3 separate regions of the Homo sapiens genome follow, and regions 2 and 3 are each linked to region 1. The links are contacts of gene promoters, found by promoter capture Hi-C in human tissues and cell types (Jung and others, 2019). All regions are on one chromosome and are shown on one strand. The core of a region is centred on a gene start or on the middle of the fragment in contact, and the rest is flanking DNA. Distances in the headings are between cores, read along the strand shown.

Region 1 (4,285 bases), core at 297-2,796:
TTGCTAGAGAGGGGCTAGACATGGAGATATGTCTCTATTTTCAGCAGAGAAGGCCTGTCAAGATATTAAAAGTACATCTCATTGTCCCCTTCTCCCACTTGTTGGAGTGCTTCCTGGCCTTGTCTCTCAGAGCTGAAGATGACATAAATCATAAAAGAAATAAATGGTACCGCCTGGGCTCTCTGATCTTATAAGGTCCCACCTAATTTAAGCTCTGGTGGATAGCCTATTTCCCATTAGTTGTCTCAATTCACAGAGGATGGAGAAAGAAAGCACTGAATGAGATGTGCAGCTCAACTCAATGGGCACTTGTTAGCCCCAATTATTTGGCTAGGACAACTTTATTCAAGTTAATGGAATACAAAACTCAGCAGTTCTTATGGAGACTTCAATGTGCTGTAGAACAAACCACAGATAAATGAACTGTCTGAAAGAATAATATGAGGCACGGCTAAACAAGTGTTGTGGAAGAGAAAGATCACTGTAATCTAGAGTTAGTTAGAGTTAGGGCTTTCTGGAAAAGTGAGACCAACATTACACCTTCGAAAACTAGTGTGGTGGTGGTGCAAGTGGAGGAAAATGGGAAAGAGGCAACAGTGTCCATAAAGACACAGAGGCAGAAAGGGCAGAGGCCCTGGGATAGTTAAAAGAGAAGTCTAGCTGAGGGACTTCTTGACTTGACTAGCAGCAATTAGCCATGACTAATAAGGCTTTCCACACTCCAAAGACTTAGATGGAGGGATAAAAAACCATCTAATGGCAGACTGTGGTAGCCTCCCTAGAGACACAGAGCTGGGCCGGATGAGTCCAGGCACTGACGTGATCCATTATCTTTCACCTTAAAGAGTAAAAGGGAAACTAAAGTTAATTACCTCCACGAAACAAAAAGGTGCCTTCTTGTGCTTCAATTACATGGATATATTCTACTAGTCTAAAAGTATCTTCTCACTTCTTTCTGTCACTGTGAGGACTTGAGTCAGAAGAAAGTTTAAATACAGTCATTGAGCTGGAAAGAGTGGAAAGAGAAGCAAAGAGGGGGAAGCTGTAGGAAGGACGAAGTCACCCCCAAGATACATGGTTACTGCTTACACCAAGCAAGCTGCCTTGGGAACGCTTCCCCCGAGCAGCCAGAATGCTCAGCAGTGGAAGACACCTCTATTCCTGTAGGCGAGTCCTGGGAAGCTGGTCAATCTGCAAATGCCAATTCCCAGCAGTGAGCTCGGTCCACGTGTAAATCAAGATTTGGGGAAAGAGTAGGGTGGGTGGCATGGTTGACAATGTCATCAGCTCCCTCCTCTGACTCCTGTGGTCGTGCCCCCATCTACTCTCACTCAGCTACACCCCACCTTCGGATTTGTGATGGACGCTGGGTCCCTAGTAACCACAGCAAGTGTCTCCCCCGCACTTCCCCCTTCCCCACCCCCACCCCCACCCCCAACCACCACCCCAGCGATGGAGCCTACTCTGCTCCAAGCCGCCGCTAAGACCCGGAGAAGCGGAATTTCACTTTGAAATTCCCTTGCCTCGTGAGGGCCGGCGCTGGGCATGCTCAGTAGCCGCGGCGCTGCTGCTGGGCTGCTGGGCTGGCGCGGAGTCCACCCTGCCGTCTCCGCCTTGGCTTCTGGGCGTCCAGAAGGCCAGGCATTTGCCGCCTCTGAGCGCTTCTGTTCCCCTTACCCGCAACCTCCTACTGCTCTTCCTCTCTCCCTCTCTTAGGGAGGTTGAAGCTGGTGCTGGTTTCTGTCGGCGCCACAGACTGACTGCTCTGCAAACCCCAGCCGAGGACCTGAATCCCGGAGACTAGAAGACCCTTGGCGGTGGCTCTTTCTAATAGCACTTTACCTGAAGTGGGGTCGTGGTGGAGTTTCTCCTCCACCTCTCAATGCAAACACTATGCGGAGAGCAGTCTGCTTCCCTGCGCTGTGCCTGCTCCTTAATCTTCACGCTGCAGGTAAGGGGTTGCCAGGCTTAGAGCCGGAGCTGTGCATGAGATGGGAAACTGCACATGCTTAAGGACTCTAGGAAAAGCTTGCCTTGCGAAGAAAGCCTTTCTAAAAAGGTAAAACAGGACAGTACCTGACAGGGAAGGGGTGAGGGAGTCGTGCACCTGTTGGAAAACTGAGGCCGAAAACTTAACCTAAAATTAGCTCTTGATTTTTCTTTACTTTATACGAAAATAGTGAACATTTTCAATATGAATACAGGTTTGCTCCCCCCTTCGCCTCCCCTCCGTCTAGATTCCCTGCTCTTGTTTCTAGGCTATGCACTTAACTGTCAATTTTTCAGGAGAGGGATAAGACATCCTGCTAGATGTAACCTTTTCTACTGCAGCGGCTACTACATTCATAAGGTCTCTTGGTCTAGCGAGCGCTCATAGGAAGGCATTGGCTGTAACCTGATGGACCACATCTCCGCCCAAAAGATCGAAATACATGGTTCACATTAGTGATGCTGCACCAGGCTCCTTTGGCCCCTGCTCTTGTCACTCGAATTTTCTAAGCCAATAAGAGGAAGAAAAGGTTTCAAATAGAATCCTCTTGTCTCTTTCAGCACCGTGGCTAGCGTCCGCTGGCATATTAAAAAAAAAAAAAAAAAAAAAAAAAAAAAAAACAATTACAGTTCCAAAGCTGACAACCCTGGGTTAGGCACTGTCCCTCGGACAGATTTGATAAGGTGTAACCAAGAGTAACAGTGAGACTGCTCCCAAATATAAATAGATTTGAGGCACCAGAATCAATATCAAGTCTCGTGAGGAAGCAAACCTTGGGAAGTACCTGAGAGATATTATATGTGGTGTCCCTGCTTTTTGCATACATAGCACCTCTATTTAATGCAGACAGACTTGCTAGGCTGAATTCCTTATCATTGTCACACACACATGAACCAAAATAAAATATGGCAGGGAGATTTTAGAAACCCTACTGTGACAGCAGTTGTCCATGCAGTAGTCCTGTAACAACCAGAGACGAGGCATTTTCCCTGAGTGTGCTTCTCATCCAATCACACATATCCATTCATTCCTTCAAGCAACATTTGCTGAGTGTATACTATGTTCTAGGGGTAATGAGTAAAAATAATTGTTCTGAAATTACAATCCTTGCAGTATCTTTTTTAAAAGAGTGGGTGAATTTTATTCTCTGTGTACAATAGTAGGAGTGAAATATGGTACTTTCTTATTCCAGCTAACGCTATTATTTAAATGTATCATGAATCTTTTGAGCAAATAATGCATAGGATTATTAAAGCTATTATTAAATACACATGTTAATTGTTATAATTATGATGTTATATTGTGGAGTTTTCAATAGTTCTTTGGCACATTTTGAGAAGTAGAAAATAGCTATGACTTGATTATTAAATTATTTGCAAACAGCTGTAGTGAATTATTTCGTTACCACATACAATTCTTCAATGCTGAAATGTGGGATGAAAACATACACATTGGGTTGAGTTTTATTTATAGTATTGCTTAATAATAGACTGACACAAACATTCATTACAGAAAAATCTCAATTCTTACTAAGGTAGCAATGATTTAGCTGGTCTGCCAACAATATCAGTGTAGTCATTTTTTCAAAACTAACATATAAAAAAGTTTAAAGATCACATTTGATACATCTTGAGTAATTATATCTTAAAAGTTATAAATAAACTGAAGCATGTGAAAAACATGTCTTGATTTACTGTAGATGAATATTCGGGATGAGAAAAATGAGGACTTTTGCTCATCAGATGAGAAACCTAGAAGCCTGTAGCCCTAGATTTTACCTGGAGTTCTGCCAAAGGGTATATTACCAAAGCCAATCCAATCCATCTCTACTTCAACTTTTTAATTTGCAAAACAAAGATAAAAAGTAAGATTAATCAACCAATTTTAATTTAATAAGAAAATGCATTTAAGGACATTTTTATATTTCAATTGCAAGATACTATTCATTGTATTCATATTTAATATAGTAAAATACATTGGTGTTTTATCACAGCAGATTGTAAGTTTAATATTATAGTTCTCTTGCCAATTTCATTTTAAATGCATTTTAATTTTAAACAGCAATTTGTGGGTCACAAGCTGTCATCAGATTAAAATTTATCACAGTTATCTAATAACATTGTTAGGGCTTTTCATCAGAACTAAAACAAACACAGCTCCTTGGTCTAAGCTTCTATACATTTGGAGATTAAGAAAATAAGTGGATGGGATGACAAAGATCAAGAAATCAAGATATTAATCTCTACTTGTTGAAGGTGTGAGTTTGTTACTTTTATGGAAGACTTTTCTCTCAGA
Region 2 (4,459 bases), core at 1,465-3,964, 88 kb before region 1:
TGGCAGTCTGAGGCGAGAGGATAGCTTGAGGCCAAAAGTCTGAGCCCAGCCTGGGCAACATAGCGAGAGTCCATCTCTACAAAAAATAATCATAATAAATAAATTTATATATATATATATAGCGGGGCATGATAGCATAAGCCTGTAGTCCTAGCTACTTGGGAGGCCCCGGCAGGAGGATTGCTTGAGTCTAGGAGTTCGAGACTAGAGTGAGCTATGATCACGCCACTGCACTCCAGCCTGGGTGACACAGCAAGACACCATTTCAAAAAAACACAAAATCCAAAAAAAAAAAAAAAAAAAAAAACCCACTCAACACTGAAATTCTTTTCTTTAGGTAAAAACAGACCTAATCTGACAGAGTCTTGAAGAATTCCCTAAAATGTACATTGTTTATTTAATGCACGTAGTGTGAATATTCACATATTTTGCTGCAGAAATACTGTTGTGTTTGATCACAGAATAGCGCTTCAGGCCCTGGTGGGGAGATATATAATATGCAGTATATACACTTTAATACTTTCTAAAATACATACAATTTTGAGTTCTAAGACACAGTTGGCCCACAGCTTGGGATACAGCTTGTGACCCTGTATATAGTTTGTGAATTATTGGAATGCTGTCTGCTTATTTGCTTGTTTAACAAGCATCCTCTTCTTTCTGATGCTCAACTCACAACAACATCTTTGCCCAGGAACCAGATGGAGAAAGGGGGTGCTCCTCTCAAGAGCGAATGGTTCCCTCTCAGTTCCTTGTCCACCATAGTGGTGCTGTGAGTCACTGCCCCATCATTAGCCATCAACCCTCACATGACTTGGCTCTCTGGGAGTGCTGCCCATCTAAGGCAGGAAACCCCTAGTGCCATGCCCAGCCTAGGGTACCACCCACCATGTAAATTGGCTCCCTGTGATCTGTCTGGGGCTGTCAGTGATATCCTACCATATGTATGATCACACAGGCTGAGTGATCAGTGTGTGGACTGAGTACAGTTTCCTTCATGGAGATGTATAAAGATAGAACCTATCATTTGGGTTTTATTAGTTTCAAGCATTAATCATTTGGAGATCCAAGTAAAAGATGGCAGCTACTTTTTTATCTTTGGCTGAAAAATAGTCCTTCTATATGACTGAAGAAAGGTTATCTGGATAAATTGAACTTTTCTATGAAAGCCAGGTCTGACATATCTACCCTATGAAGGACAAATCTCAAGTTTGAATGCTTTCACATCTGGTTTTAAGTAACTGACCTAATTGGCACAGATTGAGATTTAATCAGGACAGGGTAGGAATAGGAATAAAGCCAAAATTAGTTAATTCTGTTCCTATTAACAGTTCTGGCTAAATAATATAGGTGGGGAGGATTAGGAGGTCTTTAATGCCTTAAATGTATCCATGTAATCACTCTGCCTTATTAAGAGAGTGGAATTGAAACTTGACAACCCAGAAAACTAGTATTCAAAACCTGCTATGATACCAGGACATAGGAAGAAAGGAGCTTGTTGGCTTGCATTTCTTGTTTCTTCTTGACTGCGTTTTGGAAGGTCTAGAGAAAACATTAGTCTTATCTGTTTCCTCTGATAACATCTCTCCCCCGCAACTCCCCCTCTGTTCCTCTTTTTCCTCGTTTTGTTCTCTACCTACCTACCTATCTATCTAATCATTTATTGTTCACGGTCACTTTCTCTCCGCCTGACGGTCTGTGTATCTGTCAGTCTATCTGTCTGCTTTATTTTCCACACTGGGAAAGCATGAGAAAAGATGGGGAAGGTGAGAAATGGGCATCTGCCATCCCCCAGAAAAAATATCCTCTAATTTAAAATGTTACTTAAATCATTATTTACATAATTTTAGCCTTATAAAAGTAAAGCCTTTACATAGCTGTGATGACAATTCTTAACTTTCACTCTGAGAATCATTTAAACTAGAGATCATTTAGTTTGTTGGATGGTATGGAAATGAGATGTAATCCATAAAGCACTTTGAATTCCTTAGGAGGTTTCAATTAAATCAAAGGGTGCTAATCTTTTATAATAAAATCTTCTTCTATATTGACCCTAGAATACATTTTCTCAAATTACTCAGTGTTGAATTTATTTAGATATCTGGTCAGGGAAGGCCCTGAAAATTTTAAGTAGAGGGATTCCCTTGGAAAATTTTCTCATCAAAATTCTTGTCTTCACACGAGACTATTTTACCTATTCAGAAAACATACAGACTCCAGGATCTATAAAAAGTGGATAAACACTTATTTTTTAATGTTTCTGAATTGTATTACAAAATGTATTAAGGAAAGCTTTTTGCCTATATGAGCACATTGTCAACAAGAAGCTAGAAGCCAAGTTTCAGTTGCAGTGTAAACTGAACTGCACACAACTTAGCTTCTTATGTGGCATCTCTAGAGAGAGGTACACACAGCTTCCCAACTTGAAACAACTGAGAAAAATGAGAAGCATGCTTTTGGGGAAGTTGAAAACCTTGATGCCCTGTGTTCTGGCTCAGGCTGTGTGCGGGGCCCGCTGTCTTTCACCCACAATCCTGGGGTGCCCTAGAGTATTTTCCAAGCCTCAGTAGCTCCTAATGGTTACAGTGACCCTAGCCCAGGGGTTGCAAACACAAAAGCACACAAGTACCAAGCAAAAGATGGAAATGAGTAAAGTGGGCCTGGGGGTGCTGTAGTAAACAGGCAGCACACTCTTACAAAAGGAGACTTTTCTCAGCTCCCAAGCAGAATCCACACAGGCCCAACATTGTTAGAGATTCCATTCTTTAATTTCAAAAGAAACACAAGATCCAGGATTTTTTAGATGATCTCTTATATTTTTAAATATTCCATTGTTGTTCAAGTATTTTTTAGAAACAAACAGCAGACTAGATCTGGACTGTGAGCTGACGCTGTGACTTCTTCCTTAAATGAAATAATTAAACCCAGGAGGAGACCTCTAAACAGTTCACTTCTGTACTCAGTGATTCATTATCCCACATTTTAAGGCTTTGCCATCTTTCTGGCTTATGAGGAATCACAACAAAAACCTAGAGACTATTCTAAGGTCACATGTAGAATGTATGCAAGAGCATCATGGTCTTAAACACTCCTGATCATTAGAGATCATCTACACACTATGTAAGAGGAAATATCAGTTAATGTGGTTTTGTGTTCTCCAGCTAAGATCTCACTGCAGATTCTATTAACATCAACCCTGCAACACTTACTCTGCTTTGATGAGAAGAGAGTATCAACAGGATGAACAAACCATAAGGAGCCCCTTTAAAAAGGGACCACCCAAAGAGAGGCTGAATTAAAGTCTACGTAATACAAACCATCACTTGTGGGAAATGAAAAGTACTTGAGCAATGACTAATGTTTCTAATATCAGACACATTTGATCTCCCTCCCTTCCCCAAAAATAAAATTGTCTCATTTCAGGTGATTATCTATTGCTTGTGAATGTAAGAGTTATTCATTTAGAAACTGAACACATTTATTTCAGCATATGGCTACAGTCAACCCAGAGTTAACTGGATCATCTCTTCTCAGTTTTATGATTATGCATCTGGCTTACCTGGATCTTATAAACTGTATGATGCAAAGTAAGATATATACATATATACAAACATATGTATGTGTGTGTAGACATATGTATTTCAACAACTGATTACTGAGCTTTATGCTAAGTGGTAGAAATTAAAAAGATGATTCTGATAATCCCTGCTGTCAAAACTATACAGTCTAATAGGGTAGATAGAAATATAAGCAATTGAATTAAGTATAAGGCATTAGTGCTGTTATAATGGTATTTGCCAGTCTATCAGCAACTCCCGCTGATTCTACTCCAATGTATATCTAAAAATCTATCCACATTTATCCATTGCTACTGCCATCACCCTCATCCAAGAAACTGTTATCTCTCCTGAACTATTGCCACAAACTTTTATCTGCTTCTCATACTTCCCCTCCAGACACCATCGTCCCATTCCAATTCATAGGAACTAAAGTGATTAAAAAACAATAAGAAAGCCCTGTAGGTCCTGGCCATTGCTTATCTCTCCATCCTCATTTAATAAAATTAACCAACTCAGTCTGGGCTTCTGTCATTTCTCACAAGGAACTAAGCACTTCCTCACTCAGAAACCTGGTGCCTGCTGTTTTCCCTGAAGGGAAGCTCTCCAGTGGTTTACGTGTCACCTCCTTAGAAAGGTGTTGATGACCACAAGTTCTACACTTTAAATTCCATTTCTACTTTGCTTTTAATCTTCATTATTATGTGTCCTTGTATTTGTTTGTTTCCTTGTTTTTTTTTTTTTTTTTTTTTTTTTTTTTTTTTTTTTTTAATCTGTCTTCCCAGTAGATTTTATAAAATCACATCTTTGGCTGGGCGCAATGGCTCACACCTGTAATCCCAGCACTTTGGGAGGCCGAGGCGGGTGGATCACGAGGTCAGGAGATTGAGACCATCCTGGCT
Region 3 (4,220 bases), core at 1,379-3,878, 100 kb after region 1:
TATGAAGCCCATAAATGCACAATTTGACCATACCTCTATGAGCCAATGTCTATTTTTGCTCTTTATTCTTTCTTGTTTGTTTGTTTGTTTTGAGACAGAGTCTCACTCTGTCACCCAGGCTGGAGCGCAGTGGTGCAATCTCAGCTCAGTGCAACCTGCACCTCCTCATGCCTCAGCCTCCGGAGTAGCTGGGACTACAGGCATGCGCCACCACACCTGGCTAATTTTTGTATTTTTAGTAGAGATGGGGTTTCACCATGTCGACTAGTCTGGTCTCAAACTCCCGATCTCAAGTGATCTGCCTGCCTTGGCCTCCCAAAATGCCGGGATTACAGGTGTGAGCCACCACACCTGACCTTCTCTTTATTTTTTACCCTATTTTACTCCTCCTCTTCTGTGGAAGATTGTGACCTCCTTGTAGACAGGGTTCATGCTTCTTCATTTGTGTACATGTTTGTAGAATTTAATCAAATTACAAGTTTGGATAAGGCTGTTCACTTTTATTCAAAAGTAGAGAAAAGACAAAAAATCTAAAATTGATCTTTGGCTTACCATGATTTTTTTTTGGAATAGATACCTGTGAAGTGAGTTTTTAAATCATTATTTATTTCTTTTATTTTTTTCTGAAAATATCTTTAATATAAATATCTTAAAATTGATTGAATATCTGTTACCTTTAAAGTGATTTGACACAGATTTTTGGTAAAGTATTCTATAAGATAGAATGAAACAGGCCTCTAAGGCAACATGACAACTATGAGCCAACCATGACTTAAATCACTGTAAGACATAAAGAAACTTCATAATTTTCAATCATATTAGCCTCATTCTACATAACTCCTTTCAAGATTCTCAAGTTCAATCTTCTTCTGCAATGATCTCAAATAATTTTCAAATAATATTAGATTCTAAATAATTTCAAGCTCTCTGAAAAGTGTGAGAATAATGCTCTCATATTCCCATAGTACGCTTATATTCATCTAGATTCCCCATTGTTAATGTTTTACATTGATGTTATCAGCTACCTATCCTTCTCTCTCTTCTTCTTTCTCTTTCTCAATAAATAAATAGTTGATAGATGATAGATAGAGAGAGAGGCACATATCTGTGTGTGTATGTCCTGTCTCACAAATTTATTTTCTTTTTTTTTTTTTTTTTTTGAGACGGAGTTTCACTTTGTCACCCAGGCTGGAGTGCAATGGCATGATCTTGGCTCACTGCAACCTCTGCATTTCAAGAGCTTGAACTGCCTCAATCCTGGGTTCAGGAGATTCTCCTGCCTCAGCCTCCTGAGTAGCTAGGATTACAGGCAGGCACCACCACATCCGGCTAATTTTTGTATTTTTAGTAGAGATGGGGTTTCACCATGTTGGTCAGGCTGGTTTCGAGCTCCTGACCTCATGATCCGACCTCCTCGGCCTCCCAAACTGCTGGGATTACAGGCGTGAGCCGCTGCACCTGGCCAACCAAATTGACTTTCTAGTATGTGGTAGAAAGGCAATAAAGTTATAAACTAATTTTAAAAAGATAATTTCAGAAAGCTATTAAAGCTATAAATGGTTTAGGTCAAATAAACTGAGTGACATCTTAAGTTATATGTGCATGTGCTTGTGGGTCTGTATCAAATGTATCTCTTATTGACAAACATATCTCGTGAAGTATTCACATCTCCTTTCTTAGAGGATGTGGCACTGTCTGAACAACAGCCTGGTGTTCTTCAGAACAATCATTTTGAACCGGCATTTCCTTTGGAATCACTCTCAATCTTTTCTCAGCCTGTTCAACAAGACTGTGTATAAAAGTAGTAGAGTGGCACCTAATAGTTAGCTCTTGAGCAGATCATTCAACATGGTTTAAGTTGTGAATTTTGACTCAAAAATAGATGAAAATTAACTACTTGAGAATGTGTTACAGATATTATGGCTCTTTACCTCTAAGTAGTTCAGTGTATGGTTCCTAAGAACAAGACCATTCTCTTTTATATCCATAAAACAATTATTAAAATAAGGAAAATAACGTTGATACAATACTATTACTTAATATACAGACCTTATCCATTGGCATCTTTCTCTATTCTATCTTTTGTAGCAACAAAAAGGAAAAAGTCTGCAAATATTTGATTTTTACTTAATTTTTCATATATTTTAAGCTCTTTAAGTAACTTTTAAAACTTTTAAAACACATTAAAGTGTTTGTGGGCTGCCATGTATCAAACTTTAACATAGGTGTTACTTTTTTAAAATAGTTTAAAGTGACCTTAAAGTGTCTTCTGCTACCTTATTGAATTAAAAAGTATAACACATAATAGTATTCATTCATTTGTTCACCCATCTATTTAGCAGTACTAGTAGTGTTGGAGATCTATATAGCACTGAGACAGGATGAGACATTAACAGGATGAGATGACCTGTTAATAGACTGTGATCATTCTATAAATATTGCAGAATTCATAGAAATAAACCTAGAAGCTGAGGCTGATAAAATACTACAGCTGTCCATAATCATTCACTTAAAATCGAATCATCTTCATCAATTTCTGGATGATTTTGTTAAAATCAAACATTGTAACTTAGAAGTTGAAAAACATAGTTTCTATTTTAAAATATTTTAAATAAATACTGTTTTTCTCTTGTTATTGAGATTTTACATAAGATTTTCTATTAAAAAAAGATTCTGTTTCTAATAATGCTTAAAGATAACTTGTCTAGACCTGTGGTTTCTGGATGTTTTTGGTCACACACCACATATGTTTAAAAAAAATTTTATATCTCTAATGCATATGTGCTGGTTTATTTATAAAAGTATTACTAGTATACTAGTATTACATGTTTATTATAAAACTTACCAAAAATAAAATTTTAAGGAGCCAAATAAAAATAAATATAAATAAATTTTGAATGTTTTTTTTCACTTCAATGAATTATCTTGAACAATCCTTGGGGTTCTTGCACCATGCTTTCCTTGGGCCAGGACTTATCTTCAAGGCTGAACTATTTTATGTTTCATTATCTATTCCAGGTTATTGTTTTATGGTGGTGACTACTACTATAGTACATAGACCTGTTTAAAGGTCATATTTTTCTTGAGGAATGTGCATTCATTTTCATATTTGCATATACTCCTAGGTAAGGATCATTTTCCTGGGGTGTACTCATTTATTTCATATTTGTTTATAAATATTTGTGCACCACAGTGTGACTCTTACATTTTTTGCTTGTCATAAAGTTTTAGATAAGACACTTCAGGAAACATTTGTGCTAAAGGTAAAGAATAATGAATTAAAGAGGTGACTAAATGGAAAACTATTTTTACCGTAAACAATGCCACTCCCTCAGTCCTCCTAAAGGATGATTTCACACATTAAGAAGACGTAGATAACTCAGGAAAGAGTGTTTCTTTTAAATTAGTTGTAATTTCATGTTCATCGCAATATGTGACAAGGAAATAGGGAAAAAACAGCTAAAAGCTATATATGTGTCTGTCAAACACTTGTAAAATTGTTTAGGCCATAGCACTTGGAAGTTAACTAGATTATCAGCTGTCTGAGGCCAGTGTTGGTGCTCTTCATTTTTATGTGTCCTAATGTGCTTTTGTAGAAATAAGAGCTCAAATGTGTGTTAAATGAATGTTAGTGAGTTAATCAATGAATGAGACCTTACATCATTTTCCAACTTCAAAACATATAATTTCAGTCAGAAGTAACAACCTAAATGCTTAACACATAGAAGCTACCAGAAGTTTTATATTCTCTTTGAAGTCTCCATTTTCATGATGCTAAATCTGTCCCCCCAAGTAGTCTCATACATCCTTACTTTCCTCACCCTCCTTATATTAACGGTAAACTCAATTATGACAGTCTGACTTCTGACATTTTAAAACCGTTCGGTATATCAGGTGCTGTATTACAGTTTTCTTTACATTTCTACATTAGGTTCATTGAACTTCTTGCATATGTGGTTATAAGACTTTTATTAAATTTATAGATTTTTCATCCATTATGTCTTAAAATATACTTAAGAACTCCCCCCCACCAATTTATTAGGCCACTTAAGCTTGTCCCACAACTAACTGAGGCTTTGTTCATATTCTTTTTCAATCTTTTTTCTGTTTCATTTTGGAAAGTTTCTATTGCTGTGTCTTCAAGCTTACCAATCCCTTCTTCTCCAGTGTCTAATCAGCTGTTAATCCTGTCCCCTGCATTTTTTATTCTAGACATTGCA

The links. The method cuts DNA at HindIII sites, captures the fragments that hold promoters and counts their contacts. A contact is called where the count stands out against the background at its distance.
Region 2: a fragment that was not itself captured here is called in contact with the fragment with the promoter of PTPRR in region 1 in 2 of the 25 tissues and cell types used here (mesendoderm cells and spleen).
Region 3: a contact is called between a fragment that was not itself captured here and the fragment with the promoter of PTPRR in region 1, in 3 of the 25 tissues and cell types used here (adrenal gland, aorta and mesenchymal stem cells).

Annotation. Positions count from the first base shown.
Region 1 is chr12:70,917,999-70,922,283 of GRCh38, reverse strand. PTPRR (protein tyrosine phosphatase receptor type R) reads left to right here and starts at 1,546. Exons shown (of 14, transcript NM_002849.4): 1 at 1,546-1,951. The coding sequence starts at 1,894. The HindIII fragment of the contact is 3,890 bases long and covers 1-3,094 here.
Region 2 is chr12:71,006,743-71,011,201 of GRCh38, reverse strand. No RefSeq gene overlaps it. Among named protein-coding and RNA genes, the nearest start is that of PTPRR, 88 kb to the right of the region's middle. The HindIII fragment of the contact is 4,797 bases long and covers 316-4,459 here.
Region 3 is chr12:70,815,176-70,819,395 of GRCh38, reverse strand. The region is part of intron 2 of PTPRR (protein tyrosine phosphatase receptor type R); the gene reads left to right. Among named protein-coding and RNA genes, the nearest start is that of PTPRR, 100 kb to the left of the region's middle. The HindIII fragment of the contact is 7,765 bases long and covers 1-4,220 here.